Linked DNA regions of Homo sapiens: region 1 is linked to region 2. Evidence: promoter capture Hi-C in human tissues and cell types (Jung and others, 2019). All regions are on one chromosome and are shown on one strand. Each heading gives the region's core, a stretch centred on a gene start or on the middle of the fragment in contact. The rest is flanking DNA. Distances are from core to core; before and after follow the strand shown.

What was found. The method cuts DNA at HindIII sites, captures the fragments that hold promoters and counts their contacts. A contact is called where the count stands out against the background at its distance.
Region 1: a contact is called between a fragment that was not itself captured here and the fragment with the promoter of ADAMTSL2 in region 2, in 1 of the 25 tissues and cell types used here (H1 embryonic stem cells).

What each region holds. Positions count from the first base shown.
Region 1 is chr9:133,662,732-133,666,296 of GRCh38, reverse strand. It overlaps SARDH (sarcosine dehydrogenase), which reads left to right. Exons shown (of 21, transcript NM_001134707.2): 21 at 2,283-2,737. The coding sequence ends at 2,408. Among named protein-coding and RNA genes, the nearest start is that of DBH-AS1, 7.1 kb to the right of the region's middle. The HindIII fragment of the contact is 7,104 bases long and covers 1-3,565 here.
Region 2 is chr9:133,532,764-133,536,557 of GRCh38, reverse strand. It overlaps ADAMTSL2 (ADAMTS like 2), which reads right to left and starts at 1,854. Exons shown (of 19, transcript NM_014694.4): 1 at 1,641-1,854. RefSeq lists enhancers at 284-825, 1,366-1,907, 1,908-2,447, 2,448-2,989 and a silencer at 3,248-3,337. The HindIII fragment of the contact is 7,890 bases long and covers 1-3,794 here.

The DNA.
Region 1 (3,565 bases), core at 1-2,500, 130 kb before region 2:
AGGCCACCCACAGCCCACCCTTTGCCTGGGGTGCAGGGGTGGCCCCCAGGGTGACCGACTAGAGACTCAGAGACCCATGTTCCTATCCTCTCTTTCCTCACCCCCGACACCCCTGACCCCAGGCAACCCCACCCCCTCCAGGTGACCCTGACCCCTGGCTGCAGGAGGCAGGAACAGGCTGGAAAGAGCAGGCACTGCCCCCAGGAGCAAGTCCCAGGACAGCTCTGGGTGGCCAGGGGTGGTGGGGCAGGGGGTGGGCAGCCTCCCCAGAAGGGGAAGGGGTGGTCTCTACCTCCACCTCCTTTTCCCATCTTTCTGGCACTGCAAGTAGAGGTGCCGGTGAGGAGGGTCGTGTCTCTCCATGGGAGCCGATCTGACGTTTGGCCTAAGCCCTAAGTGAGGCCGGGAGGTGCTGGCCTGGCTCCAGAGCCTTCCAGCCTGAGCCCCTGATGGACACGTAGAGGGAATTGGGGAGGGAGCGAGCACTTGGGAGAAGCCATGAGGAGGGGTAGGCTGGAGACGGAGCAGCCTTAGCAAGAGCTGCAGAACATGCGCAGGCCCAGCTCGCAGGCCCAATGGGGAGGGGACACCGCCAGGCCTCGGGCAAGACCATGGTCCTGTGGAGCTGTGGGGAAGTGGCAGCCCATGGGGCTGAGTCCGGCGGTGGAGCTGGGAGGCTGGGGACACACTTGATGCCACTAGCCTTTGGATCTGCCTTTTACTTGCTTTGTGACCTTGGATAAGGATCCTCTCTTGGAGCCTCAGTTTCCTCATTTATAAAATGTGGACACTCACCTACCATGCAGGGCTGTCATACAGGCCACTGCACAGAGTGAGTCTTAATATGTGGGGATTGTGATGGCATGGCTCCCACGGTGGGCAGGGCCTCCTGACACAGCCCTGGGGCCATGGTCCTGGGGGCCACAGCCCTGGGGCCCAGCCAAACCGGAGTTTATGGGCTCCATGCCAGGGTGGGCTGGGGAGTGGAGGCTCCTTTGCCATTTCTTCAAAGAACAGTAATGCTCGCCTTTCTCCGGAGTCAGGGATGGGTCCATAACCAACGTGACCAGGGAAGCCGAGGTTCCGAGGTTAAACGGCATCCAGACAGGCAGCCGGGGAACCAGTCGATGCACCCAGAGCGGCCGGTGCACGTCTCCTGCCCCCTCCATCAGGGCTGTCCAGAGCATTTGCACCATGGAAATGGGCAAATGCTACAGTCACACCCACCTCACCCCAGAGCTGGTTGTTAAACATTTTCTAGCACCCAAGTGGGGTAACGGAGGTTTCTGCCTAAGATAGGGAAACCTGCTCATTGATGGGAAAGGCTCCGAGATGGGGAAGGCGTTTCTGCCTCGTAGGTATCTGTTAGCAAGGCCAGATGCCCGCTTTGAGTTGTGCATGCCCGTGGACATCTGAAGGCCACCAGCTCTCCATGCTGCCTGCCTGCGGGGGGCAGCTCAGAGCTCTCAGCCCTGCAGGTGCACACATGGCTCAGAAGCACCACTCCTAAAGCTCCTGTCGCAGAAAAAGCTTGGTTTGTTTTTTATTTTTTTCATCCAGTCCTGAGCTGCTAGGAACAAGAAGGAGCCCTCTGACTCCCAGAGCGGAGCCCGAGACTCCCTCCTGTGGCCCTGACCTTGGGTTTAATTGCTGTAAAGGAAGAACAGCTTCCCTGAGTGGCCTAGCCTGCCCTCCTCATAGCAGCTGCAGCAAAAGTGCCAGGCGTCACCAGCTGTGCCAGGCTGGAGGTGACACCCTCCTCCTGCCTAAGAGCACCTGCACCTGGGGCTGACTGGCTCCCGAGCGCTTGCTGGGGAGCCCGAGCCAGGGTGTGGGATGGGGAGCATGCAGAGGCCAAGCTGTCTAGAAGGCTGTTCCAGCCGCCCCTGCCCCGAGGGATTCGAGCCGGATTGGCCCCCAGCCTCGGCGCTGCTCTGGCCGCTGTGCTTGCCCGGGTCCGGGGAAGCCACCGTGTTGCTGCTGTTTCCCAGGCATCTGGAATTGCTGGGGTGGGAGGTGTGTTGTCCGGTGGAAGTCATATTGGCTGCCAGACCTTGGCTTTGCCGGACCCCAGATGCCCATGTCCAACTCAAGATCACATGGACACGAACTGCACCTGCTCTGGGGCAATGCCTGGGTTCAGAAAGGAGTCCCTGGCACAGGGATGAGTTTGCCCACAGGGCAGGTAGCAAGACCAAGACCCCCTCCTCCAGAGAAGCAGGCAGACGTGAGCCCTGTACCTACCAACAGAGAGTGATCCTCATCCCCACCTCTGCTCCTAGGTCTCGCTGGACTTTGTGAAGAGCGGGGACTATGCCCTGGAGAGAATGGGGGTGACCTATGGTGCCCAGGCTCACCTGAAGTCGCCCTTCGACCCCAACAACAAGAGGGTGAAGGGAATCTACTGAGGGCTCAGACCACATGCCCCATCCCATGCTGTCCATCCATTCTCACAGGTCCCAAATGGCCCTGGGTCCCAGGACCCTGGACCCAGCCAGAACTTGTGCCCTCCCTGTCCTTAGCCTAGGCCTAGTCCTGCGAAAACCCCCAAACCAGATACGGACAGAGACCAAGATGGCCCATCCTGTGGTCACTGACTGGAAGGCAGTCTCTAATCCACCCCAATCCTCCCAGAAAGCAAACCTGTAAGTGTCTTGGGCTCAGGGACCATGGCTTGTAGCCCTTTCCAAGCTTCTAGAAGGTGCTTAGTAAATACTTGATAAGCCCCACGTGAAAACAGCGAAGCAAATAGGCTTCATCTTTTACTCCAGGCTTGACTGATCGGTGGCGGGCTTCCCTGGGGCACTTGGCTGAAGAGCATGAGGCTGTGTCTGGGTCAGGAAAGAGAGGTGATCGACTGGCATTGTCTGCCACAGCGCACATGGAGGCCTGGGACCAAGGCCATTCTTCAGGATGGTGCCTCTCGGCTCTCAGGTCGGAACAGGAGCTGGAAAGCTCTTCTTACCTTGCTCGACCTCCCTGTTCTTCAGGTGGCAAAGCCTCCTGAGAGTCGGCAGCCCGGGAACACAGAGGAGCCGAAGCAGGGAGCGGGCGGGGCCTCAGATTGGTGCCCTCCTCACCCACACAGAAGTGCCAGCTCCTGCCTCAGTTTCCCCTTGAGCCCCTCGCTCACCAGGCCCAGGCAGGAGGGACGTGCTGCTGGGTAAGAGTCTGGTGGAGTCCCCCTTTCTAGGTGACCTTTGTCTTTGCTGTTGATTTGGACGCGGTTCCTGCCCATGCCCTCCTCCTTGTCTGGCCCTTGCAGGAGGACCCTCTCTTAGGCTCTGCCCTGCACGCTGCCTTGAGATGGGGTGGCTCCTCTGCCCACCTTCTCTTCCCCCTGATAACTGCCTGTGTGTCAGAAGCAGCTCTGCCTCTCCTGCCTGGGAGGGGTGTGCATCTCTGTCCATCCCACGTGCTCAGTCCCCTCCCTTGTCCCCCCGAGCCCAGGTTCAGATCAGGCCCGTCAGAGCGGCACTGCGCAGTCTTGCCAGGCATGCCCTGCAATCTGGGAAGAGCGGGAGGCAGATGCTTGAGGGTATCGTGGAGCCGGGGCCCCACAGAG
Region 2 (3,794 bases), core at 605-3,104:
GGGAAGGATGAACCCCCCGCCTCAGTCTAGGCTTAGCAAGAAGGAGCTTGGTGAATGATTAGTAATGCCTGCTTCAGGCAAGACACCCAGCGGCGGTGTGCGTGCTAAGCCTGTGCCACCCTTGATCCAAGGGCATGCAGGGAAGCATGCCATGCTTTGCCTCCAAGTCCTCAAGCCCCCTAGAGAAGGGCTGTGGAGACAGCCAGCCTCGGCTGAGGGGGCTGGGGACCCAGGCGGGGGGAAAGGCTCTGGTTCGAAGGGATGGGCCTGGGCTCAGTCCAGCGCCTTGGCAGGAGCACCTTGGGATTTTAACTGGCTCAGCTCTTGCTGGCCTCGCAGGAGAATGGCCTCTGCCACTGGCTGCTAGGGTCAGTGCATGGGGATGGGCTTGGCCAGGTCCCGGGGGAATGTGCAGCCTCGCCCTAGACCAGCAGCTCCACAGTCAGCATCCAGCAACAGCCGGCACTCAGGTGAGGCAGAACCCAGGTACCTATGCCGCCTCCCGATCCCCGGAGAGAAGATGGAATTGGGGGAGGGGCAGGGCAGGAGGAGGTGCAGTTTGTGCCAGCATGTCAGCAGTCCAGGGCCACAAGGCTGACTTCCTCCCAACAGCCAGCACCCTTGGCTCAAAACACCTGCCAGGGGTCAAAGCAAGCCCATTGGAAGGGACTGTCCAGCCTCCAGGCCCTCAGCTCTCCCCACCCCCTCCTCAGCGTCGACCCTGCCCTGTGGAAGGGAAGACCAGAGATCCACCATGACCTCTGTCCAGGCCTTGCTCAGGTGCTGAGGGTCACTTGCCAGCGAGTTAGAGAAGGGATTTCAGAAACCACGCAGCCTGCACTCATAACCTGGAGCCCAGAGAGGGGAGCCAACCTGCTCAAAGCCACACAGCAAGGTAGCACACTAGCAAACTCAGGGACTCGACCCCCACGCCTGGCCAATTCCAGGGGAAGAAGGCATGGAGGTCACCCCTCACCCCTGCCAGGCCAGAGGCCAACTCGGGCTCTGCCCCTCCCTCCTCAGCAGCCTCCATCCAACTTGAAGAGTTTCCTTGCAGGCCCGGCACCTGCAGATTTTCAGGGGCCACTCCAAGGACACCACTGCAGCCCGGACGACGCAGCAGTGCACCCTGGAGTGGGGAGCCTGAGTCTGACCTCCCCTGCCCCCGCCGCCTGCCCCCCACCTCCCTCCCCTGCAGACCTCCATCTGCACTCTCAGCCTCACACCCACAGGAGCCCCCTCCACTGTGCCATTGGCTAACGGGTGCCCCAGCCTCTGCCTGCCGGCTGAAGACAGGTGCCAGCCGGCCTCACACTTGCTTTTTTCATTAAGGCTTCCAGACACCACTGGCTTCTGGCCAGGCCTCGCTCACGGGGATCCATCCCTCCCTGGGGTCCAAAAGCAGCGGCTGGCGGCAGCAGAGAGGTCTGCCGTGCACACAGAGCTCCGGGCGCACAAGGCTAGGTGCTGGGAGGCCACCCTGCCCCGTGCTCTGCGGCCCGACCCCTCCCCACAAGCCTCCCCACGTTATGTAACGGCTCCAGAGGGCGCGGGGTGCTCCTACCCCCAGCCCCACTCTGAGCAGTGGGCTGGCCTGGTGGACGCTGCAACGTGAGGGGGACGGGGACGAGGTGGCCTACCTGGCTTCGGGTCAGCAGGTTGTCCTCCCAGAGAAAGGGGCGAGCGCTGCGGAGGGCAGACGGCGCCAGGTGCGCTGTGCGTGCGGGGGCGGCGTGAGTGCAGAGGCTGCGGCCCGGCCTCCCTCTCCCCTTCCCCTCCTCCCCCGCGCCGCCTCCCTCTCCCACTTCAAAGAGCATCCAAGAGAGGGGGTTCCCGGGAGGGGCGCAGCCCAGTGGCGGCTCTGCGCCGGCGGCCGCCTTTATAGCTGTCAGGCAGACGGGGAGGAACACTCACACTTCCCACCAGGCCGCTCCCCCGCCCGCGCCGGCCGGCCTGGCGCACACTTTAACCCGCTCTGCGCCTCTGGAGCCCGGCCAGGCCGGCCCAGCTGCCTGTTGGCTGCTGCCGGCGGCGGCGGCCCAGGAGCGGCGAGCAGGGAGGCCTTCTTCCCGGGTCCAGAACTGGGGGCCACATGTCGGGTGTCCAGACGGAGCAGCCGCTGGCCTGAGGTTACCGGGGAGGCTGGCGGTGGCAAAGCCCCAGCCCCGCCTGTCCGGCTTCTGCCTCCAGAGCGGGCCCTGTCCCTGGGGCTCCTGAGAATGGGGTCTGGGATGTATGAGGTGTCCCGTCTGATGGCTCCGTTGTACGGAGGGAAAGGCTGAACTTCCGGGACGACCGTGCCCCAGGTCACGAGCCTCAGAAAGCTCCCGAGATGCAGGGGCCTAAGCAGGTGGAGGGACGCAGGGAGACCCAGCGAGAATGAACCAAGGGCTCCAGGGAGGAGACAGATGTGCCCGTGGCCTGCTGACCAGATGGCTAGAGCAGCCAGGGCCAGGGCAGAGAGGCTCAGGGATTCTGCAGATGTCCAGCACCAACTTGGCAGCCCCTGGCAGGCCAGGCCTGGAGCTCAAGCCTCTGTTCCTGCTGAGTCAGGGCACAGAGGGGAGCGAGAGTGGGTGGAGCAGCAGAGCCCCCCTGGGAAACTCCCGGCGGGCCCCAGACTTTGTGAGGCTTTCCTAAAGCAAGGCTGGGCACCTAGCCTCTGCACACCAGCTTCCCCAGAGCCCATCCTCGGCAAACAGAGGCACCTCCAAAAAGGGGAGGAGGAGGAAGCTGGGGCACCATTCCATCAGGTCATCTGTGTCTTTTCATCCATGCCCCTGCCTCCATGCAGCAGATGTCCTGGGCCCACAGCAGTGCCGGGAAGACACTTCTCCTTCCCTCTGTCCTCCCTGCTGGAAGAAACTTGTGAGTTCCTTCAGCTGCCTTCATGAGAAAGTTCTGCCCTGTGTCTGACCACCCACCAGAAAGGCTGGGAAGGAAAGCCACCAGTAATAGTAGTGAAAGCGATAATACCGTCTGCCCTCTGTCCAGCTTGTCCTACGGGCCCAGAGCTGTGAGGCCAGATCCACCTTTATGATCTGCATTTCACAGGTGGAAGAACTGAGGTTCGGGGACCAAGTCACCTCTCCAGTAGGCAAGGCTGGGATGCCAGCGCTCCTGAGTGTCGGGTTCTCTCCTCTGCCGGGTTGTTTAAGTTTCTCTCCCCGGGACCCTCGGGCAGGCAAGTCTTATTCATCTCATTCTCCTGCTGGGGCAACTGGGATGCAAGGTGGCTGCTCCTAGTCACAGGGCCACCTGCGGTGTGGAACCAGGACTAACCCTAACCCTAACCCAGGCCCACACTGCCCCCTGGGGTCGCTGTGCTGAATCACAGACATGGTGGCACCTGTCACCCAGCACACACACACACACACACACACACACACACACAGGCACACACACACCCAGTCCCTCTCACATGACCGGATTACACTCGCTCTGGGTGCCTCTGCCATCCCCTTCCTCTCTCTTCTGGTGACCGCCAGGCCTCGCACCCCTTGGCACAGTCCCCGAGCTCTCCTGGCGTTTGTGGCCTCACATCCAGCCAGCGCCAGGGTGACTAACGGTTTCCCTTGGGAGGGACCCCACAGCCGACCAACACAAACACCCCCAGTGTCTTCTCTTGGCTCAGCAGGACGGCACAGGCTGCAGGCTGGCCACCTGGGAGACGGGTCTGTGGGGCCAGCCATCCCCTGGCTCTGTGACCTCCTGCAGGTGTGTGACCCTCCAGGCCCCAGCTCCCCTGGCCAGCCACACTTCCACACCACCCCCACCCCTTACCCCAGAGCCTG